2 separate regions of the Homo sapiens genome follow, and region 1 is linked to region 2. Evidence: promoter capture Hi-C in 16 types of primary human blood cells and fetal thymus (Javierre and others, 2016). All regions are on one chromosome and are shown on one strand. The core of a region is centred on a gene start or on the middle of the fragment in contact, and the rest is flanking DNA. Distances in the headings are between cores, read along the strand shown.

Region 1 (4,389 bases), core at 360-2,859, 300 kb before region 2:
CCAGGTATCAAGCTTTGTGCGGAGAACTGGGTAAACAGAGATTAATAAGGCACCTCGCCTTCCCCCAGGTGGCCACAAGTGTGTATTATGTAATAGAAAGAGGAAGCAATTTATTGAAATGGCAAATGAGAGACAGTGCTCTGCTAGTAGGAGGTGGACGAGTATGGAGATGTTAAAAGGGGTGCAGGTGAGGAGAGCATCAGGGAAGTCTTCCTGGAGGAGGGATACCAGAACAGACTTTGGATTTGTTCATTAGAGAACAAAATGCTGATCAGAGTCCCAGCAGAGGAAACAGCATGAATAAAATTGCCAATGGGATAATGCACCGTACAGGGTACAGAGATGTTTTCTGTATGCAGTGGGGTGCTCAAGAAAGGTTGTAGAGATAGATGAGGCTAAGGAGTAGGTTGTGTCTTGGAGGCTATATTGGGAACTTGAACTTTGTCTTTCATACATGGGGAGACCCTTTATTATTCTAAGAGGGGAAGAGCAGGAAACCATCACTAATGTGTGCTACTGGCTGGGCTCTGTGAGAACTCCTTGGGAGAGACAGCATTAAGAAAAAGGAAAACATTGCTAAGTAGCAACTTGAACTTAGTAAGGTATGAAGAAGGTTCTCTAAGCCTCTGGAGATAACGATACTACCTACCTCTGTGTTCATAAGAAGCCTAACAACTTTGGCAAGTCTCTAAAACTCTCGAGAACTTAATTTTATGATCTGTAAAATGGAATCATCTTACTTATAATATTATTGGGGGAATTCAATAAGGTAGTATTTTTAAAGTGCTTAGCAAAATGCCTGGCACTCATAGTAGCTCTAAATTATTTGGAGAGGGCCTGTTATCTTTTTGGGGGCATGATAACAGCCAAGGTTCTTTTTCTGTTTCAGAGCCTACTTGGATGTTAATGAGCTGAAGAACATTCTTAAATTGGATGGATCAACACATCTCAATATTTTCTTTGCAAAATCCTCAGAGGAGGAGTTGGCAGGAGTAGCAACTTGGCCATGGGACAAGGAGGCCCTGATGCACTTAGGTGAGTCTTAGAAACTCCTTCAGGAGGCAACTAGAGTAGGACAGTAATACACTTAGTGCGATGATGATCATTGTTACGATCATGATGGTGGTGGTGGTAGTTGTGAGGGTGAACAACCGATTTATTTATCACTTTTTAATTTACAAAATTCTTTAGCATCCTTTATCTCATTTTGACCACCAAGCAATTTTCTGAAGGAAATAGCACCATATTATTAACCATGTTTTATCAATGGGGAAATGAGACCCAGAGAGGAAATGGGGCTTATCCAACATCACACGCAAGACAGTGACAGTCACAATTGGAATTTAAGTTTCCAACACTGCCCATTGTTTGCTTTCTCCTTATACCCTCTGTCTCCTAGTTCCTGCAAATATCTTCTCAGTCTGGTAACCACACTGTACTGGCACAGCCAGTCATGGGTTGGCTTAAAAGACACCAAAGAGGCAAGAAAAAGTGAGTTTGCAAGAACTCTGTGTTCCTCCATGTTCCACCCACCAACACCAACAGGAACTCTTCTTACATTCAAATTATACATATCCATAAACAAGACATAAGTTTGTACAAACCAATCACCAAAAGTTAGACATGACAACAGTTTCTGAACCAGGCCCTGTAAGCAAACATTGCAGTTCTTTAATTTTATTTTTTCCATGCTCTCTTCCAGGACACATCTATATGTAAACATGCATTTTTTTAACTGTACATTTTTAAAATCATAGCATAGATGAAATTCTGTGTTCTTTTTTCACTTAATATTATGCTATCTACTTTTTTTTCCATGTCGCAGAAGTCTTATCCTTAACTTCCCACCCATATTTTTTTCACTTAATCACAAAAGAAAAGCACCCTTGTGGGTTATTTTCCCCTCTCTAAAGCCAAGATTTTTAATAGCCACATAATATTCCCTTGAACAAGGGCACTGCCATTTATTTAATCATTTTCCGTTTGGTAGAATGTTCCCATTATTTACAAGAATGAATCGTGATGACTCAGTGAACATCTTTATCTGAGAATGTTCAGGCTCAGCAGTGACAGTGCTGGATGTATCCTCAGGCCTGCCTGGTCTCCTGGTGAAACAGAGTCCAGTAGCTTCTCCATTGCTATTCTGTCTTGGAAATGAGAGATTTAAATAATGCAAGTTTTGCTCAATGAAACCATAGACTTAGTTCCCTCCAGACGACTCTCATTTCTCAATTGTTTTTTAGAGAATGAAACCAATTTGTGTGTGTGTGTGTGTGCGTGTGTGTGCATGTGTGTGGTTGTATAAATAAAGATAGATACAAAGATAAATATCTACTTGTTCTCAGCTGGGAGGATTTTATGCCCCAGGAGACATTTGGCAATATCTAGAGATGTTTTTGCTTCTTACAAATGGGGGAATGCTACTGGCATCTAGTGGGTAGAAGCCAGTGATGCTGCTACATGTCCACAATGTCCACTACAAAGAATTATACAGACTAAAAAGTCAATAGTGCTGAGGTTGAGAAATCCTGAGACATATGGTGTATGGGTAGATAGATTGGCAGATAGACAGACACAGACAGGTGGGGTTGGGCAGAAGAGAGCGTGCAGCTTAGGCAAACTTGAAGATGATCAGCTTATATCACATGCCTAGTATGATATATGGGAGTAATGCTAGACTAGAGCCAAAATTCGTGTTTGTTCTCAGCTGTGACTTTACTTAGCAGTATGGCCTTAGGCAATTCTCTTTCCTTCCTCAGGTCTCAATGTCCTTCAATATTAAATAAGCAGGTCCTAGGAGGCCAGAAGACCCTAAGGATCCTTCTCAGTTCTGAAATTCTGTCCTATTAGAAAAGCAACTGAAAGGGCCATGATCAGAGTCTGAGAAGGATTGAGTAGCAGGCTTCTACTGTTAGAAAAAACTACTCCTGATAATTCCATAAATTTCAGAGTCTGGCTCAGGGCCAGGAATAAGGGAGGCTATAAATCCATAGCATGTTATAGTATTTCAGGATGATGTCAGGCTCAAGCTATTTCACCTTTTAAGAGAAGCAATGAAACAGGACTGGGGCCCAAGTGCTGTCACTCTGTGAAAAGGGGTGAGTTGGGAGGGGATGAGGTAAAGCAAACAGGGCTAGCCTAGACATTAAGTCTGCAATCCAATCATCATCCCTGGAATGGTCCTGTCCTCTCATTACCTCAATAATGAAGCTTCATGGAGAGACAGAGAATCATTGGCATTATTGTAGCTGCTTATTTTAGAGCTCACCAGAGATGCAAAGTCCATTTTCCACAGTCACAAGGCCAGTGTGAAGCAGAACAAGGATTGCAACCTATGTCAGCTAACTCCAGCTGGACTCCAGGCTGCCCTCTCCCCATCCCAAGAGATGCTGCTCATGAGTAATTCCTCTGCAGTAGCCCCAATCAAACCCAATTTATTACAACCATATTTTTCCCCTCTTTTTCTGCTATTACACCATGATCCCTGGAAAAAGCCTTGGGTGGGAAGCGGATTATGTTTCATGTTATGATTGACAGAAAATAATTGAGAAAGATTTCCTGTCTCAATTTCTCTTCCTCCCTGCCTCTGCCTGCCCCCTTCTCATACCCAAGTGAATGTGCACACCCGCACACTCACATGCCCTCTCACACATCTTTATCTTTGTGTTAGAAAGCTCTAAGCAATTCAAAATTGCTCAGAAATTCAATCTCTGAAATTAAGTCCTCCAGTGACCCTAACACGGAGACAGAGTCCTTCTTCAAAATCAGAGACCTCTGCATAGACTCTATGAGTCCCTTGACTGAGCAAGCACACCATTCCAGAGGTTCAGTCTAAGATAAAACCCTCCATGCCCATGTGGGGCTTGCCAGCTCAAATCAACAAGACCCTACCTCCTCACCATTCTTTTAGAAGATGCTGCTCTACACCTAAAGTACCTACTTTCAAGGTTCACAGACCTGAGTTTTAACCTTCCCTTAAACATTTTAAAATTTTAAAGTTTAATTATCTCTCTGGCAGCCTGTATGCATCTTTCCAATGCCTAAAATGAACACAGCACAAATACTACCCATAAATTCTGCTGAGATCTGTTCTGTCTATCTGCCCAAGCCAAGCAATTCTCAATCTTCTGAGGCATGTGATATAGACCATTGCTTCTCAAACCAGAATATACAGACAAGTCATTCAAGGCTCATTTTAAAATACAGATTGTGCTTCTGTAGGTCTGGGGTGAGGCCCGAGATTCTGCATTTCTACTAAGCTCTCAGGTGATGATCATGCTGCTTGTCCTCAAGTGATGTACTTGATGTATGGAGGTGCTATTCTAGTTCTCACACTAGATTAGTTAAACCTCACAAACTTCTTTAGATAAGTTAACATTCAGCAAATAT
Region 2 (4,018 bases), core at 1,222-3,721:
CTGCACATTGTGCACGCGTACCCTAAAACTTAAAGTATAATAATAAAAAAAAAAAACAGCACCAGTGGGATTGAATGAGGTCCTGAGCCCATCCCATTCCCCAAACTCAGTTCTCCTCCATACTCGCACTTGCACACACACACAAAAAGCATATCCCCCTCCCCACTCCATCCCTGGAGGCAACAAGCCTCCAGAAGGGTGGGGAGAAGGCCCAAGCAAAGATGAGTCAGGTTTTCTGGTCATGCAAGCAACACCATTTAACCAGGCTGAGGTGAATCATTGAGAAGGAGGTGGGACCTGGGAGGTGGCAGAGAGAGGTAGATTTCCAAATGTGTGTGTGTGTGTGTATGTGTATGCATGCATGTATGTGAGAGAGAGAGACAGAGAGACAGGGACAGAGAGGCAGAGAGACATAGAGACACACAGAGAGAGACAGAGAGAGACACACACAAAAAACAAACACAGAGAGGAGACACACAACACACAGACACAAAGACACACACTCACACACAGAGAGAGGAGAGAGAGAGAGAAATAGAGAAAGAGACCAAGAGAGAACTACAGCCAGAAAATACTCAGAAAGACTGAAGCAGAAACTGAGAGCCACAGTGAGAGACAGAGGAGAAATGGAGAGAGAAAGAGAGAGACATAGATAAGAACACATAGGGCCAAAGACAGAGAACCAGAAATAAAAATGCAGAAAAAAGACAATCAGAGAGAAGTGGATAGAAGGTCAGAGACCTAGAAAGACAGATAGAAATAGAGAGACATAGACAGGAGTTGGTGAGGAGAGAGAGAGAGAAACAGAGAAAATCGGGGTCAGAAAGACCAAGACCAAGGCAAACAAGAAAAACAGAAGGAAGAAAGGAAAGAAGGAAGGAAGGAAGGAAGGAAGGAAGGAAGGAAGGAAGGAAGGAAGGAATGAATGAATGAATGAGGGAAGGAAGGAGAGAAGGAAGGAAGGAAGATGGAAGGAAAGAAAAAAGGAAGGAGGTAGAAAAGAAGAAGAGAATGAAGGAGGGAGGGAGAGAGGGAAGGAAGGAAGATGAAAGGAAAGAAAAAAGAGAGGAAGGAAAGAAGAAGGGAAGGAAGGAGGAAAGGAGGGAGGGAGGGAAGAAAGATGGAAGGAAAGAAAAAAAGGAAGGAGGAAGAAAAGAAGGGAAGGAAGGAGAGAGGGAGGGAGAGAGGGAAGGAAGGAAGATGAAAGGAAAGAAAAAAGGAGGAAGGAAAGAAGAAGGGAAGGAAGAAAGGAAGGAAGGAAGGAGGGAGGAAGGGAAGGAAGATGGAAGAAAAGAAAAAAGGAAGGAGAAAGGAAAGAAGGGAAGGAAGTAAGGAAAGAAGAAAGGAGAAAGGAAGGAAGAAGGAAGAAGGAGGGAGGAAGGAAGGAAGGAAGGGCACGGCAGGACCAGCTAGAAGGGCATCTTCTGGAGATGGATGCCCTTGAGTGACCAGGGAAGCTTTACTTCTGGTCTCACCGCTACTCGGGGCAGATGATCTGGGAGGAGGAGGGGGGGAGAGTGAGAGGGTGACTGGCATTTCCATTCAGCTCCCCTCATCTATCCCTCCCACCCACATATAGAGGTTTTCACTCTATTAAAATGACTCCCTTGCTTCCTCATTTATGTTAAAATTTTCCTTGAAATAAAGAAAAGGAAACAAGGTCACCCTTCAATCCACAATGAAAACTATAAAAGCGTTTTTAGGCTTGGAAAATTTAGCTGGTCAGTTTTTCCTACTGTTTAATAACTGCCTTGGGTTACACTGAATGAGTAAACATGTTTTACAAGCTTCTAATTCATACCTAACCCTATGAGTTCACAGCTTTACATAATATATACACACACATATACTATATATACACACATGCACACATACATACTGCAATGTAAAATATAAACACACATACATACTTAATATATATATGAGTGTGTTCGTGTGGTGTAAGTAATCTTTCCAATTTGTGCAGCTCATTAGGGCTTACAAAGCACGCTCTTTCCTCATTTAATCCTCACGATAATCCTGTGAGGTAGGCAGTTTAGGATTATCATCCCCAGTTTACAGGTACCTGTGGTTAAGGTAGAGAGACCAAGAACCCACAGGTCTCTAAGGCATCACAGTCCATATCACAGTTCTGCTCTCCATAGTCCCAAAGCTGACTTCATGAACTTGGGTAGTGCAGTGCCCACTTCTGGACCTGCAAGGACCCAAAACCATGGGGATCCTGAGGCATCATCTGTTTCAGGGCTTCATTGTACAGACAGGAAAACTAAAGCTCAGACTATTACTGCTAGCCTATAGGGTGCCTCTGTGCAAATTGGAAAAACAATAGAAAAATAAAAATCATCTCTTTCTTAAGATACTTCCCTCCCTTGTTCCAATATTCTGATTTGTTAGAACAAGACACTTGATCAATGATTAATACATGTTTATGATGTCTACAATTGGAATGGTGAGCTTTGGAATGTGGTAGCATTGTGAGCAGCAAAACCTGTGCGACTGCATCTGACATCGCCAGGATGGGGGCCCAACCAAGGTGAGGGCAAAGAGGACGGTAAGGGAGAAAGAAAGAAAGAAGGGAAGGTAAGATGGGAGAGACAGCACCTACTTTCTGAGGTCTAAGAAGAAAACCCATTTTACTTAAAGGACATTGAGATAATAATAATAACTAGTGTTTATTAAGCTCTTAATCTTTTCTGATACTTACAGTAACCCTGTGAGAGTGTTTCATATTGCTAACTACTGCTTGTATTTCTATCTTACACTCTCAAGTAATAATAATATTATTCAGAATAACAGTGACAATTGATATAACTTAAGCATTCACAATGTTAGATACTATGCCTAGTATTTCATGTACTGCATCTCATTTCAGCTTAATAACAATATGCCAGCCTGGGCGACATAGTAAGACCTCATCTCTACAAAAGTACAAAAATTAACTGGGTGTTGTATCGTGCATCTGTAGCTCCAGCTACTCAGGAAGCTGAGGTGGGAGGATCACTTGAGCCTGGGAAGTCAAGGCTGCAGTGAGCCAAGATAGTACCACTGCCCTCTAGCCTGGATGACCAAGTGAAATCCTGTCTCAAAAAAAAAAAAAAAAAAACCCAAAACAACAACAACAAAAAACACAAGTTAGCTTATTTCCCCAAATTTACAAATGAGTATATCAAGATTCAGAGAGATCCACTAACTTGCCTAAGGTCACTTGGTTAAATTGCGCAACTGAGATTTGACTATTATGAGGGAAGAGTAAAGGTCAGACACACTTTCACATCCTCTAAAAGTGACTGAAATGCTTTACATTCTCAATAATTACTAACTATGCTAGCACATCAGAGAACCCTACTTTGCATATGGGGCATCAATATCTCTGACTTCTCATCTCGTGTGCTTTTAGTATCTGATAGTCTACTCATTCCTTTAATCGCTTTGAGGCTACTGATGAATGGAACCATCTAGATCATGAATCCAGGGAGTCTCTGCTCTGTGGAAACAATGTTGGTTCCCGCTCAGCTTTTCCCTGGTGCCCAGCTCGCCTCCCTGTTTCCACCTCTCCCTTACTGGATACCCAATCAATGCAAATGGATCTGAGTAGTCATTAGAATTTATTTTTTAAGAAAAGCAAGGCAAAACCAAACCAAAACCAGAAGTCTGCCACAATATGCAAAGAACCACCTTTGGATTCCAATAAAACTGGGCTTCCTACCTTTAGCATCCTCTTGTGTAAGACAGGAATAAGAAGTATTACCATTTTAATAGAATGTTTCAAGGATTCAATGTGTAAAATATCTGACCCAGTGCTTCTCCTTAATGTATAAAATGTATTCCAAAACAAGAAGTGGCGATGGGTCGGGGGCACTCATGTTGCACTAGAACTTTACAGTGTACCTGGTATTTTCATATCCATCAACTCCTAGGCAATCCAAAGCCTCACTACTGCTCCAGCTAGAGCGCCTTCCCTCTCCCTTTGCTGACTACACTTCAATGACTGTGCCCTCCTTGGTGCTCCTGAGGATGC

What was found. Contacts are between HindIII fragments. The CHiCAGO score rates a contact against its expected background, and 5 or more counts as called.
Region 1: a contact is called between a fragment that was not itself captured here and the fragment with the promoter of ASTN2-AS1 in region 2, in 9 of 17 cell types (M2 macrophages, M1 macrophages, M0 macrophages and 6 more). The highest score is 20.4, in M2 macrophages.

What each region holds. Positions count from the first base shown.
Region 1 is chr9:116,206,567-116,210,955 of GRCh38, forward strand. It overlaps PAPPA (pappalysin 1), which reads left to right. Exons shown (of 22, transcript NM_002581.5): 3 at 890-1,035. Among named protein-coding and RNA genes, the nearest start is that of PAPPA, 55 kb to the left of the region's middle. The HindIII fragment of the contact is 3,198 bases long and covers 11-3,208 here.
Region 2 is chr9:116,501,812-116,505,829 of GRCh38, forward strand. It overlaps ASTN2-AS1 (ASTN2 antisense RNA 1), which reads left to right and starts at 2,472. Exons shown (of 12, transcript NR_033973.1): 1 at 2,472-2,533. All of the region lies in intron 19 of ASTN2 (astrotactin 2), which reads right to left. RefSeq lists an enhancer at 3,672-3,841. The HindIII fragment of the contact is 9,663 bases long and covers 1,786-4,018 here.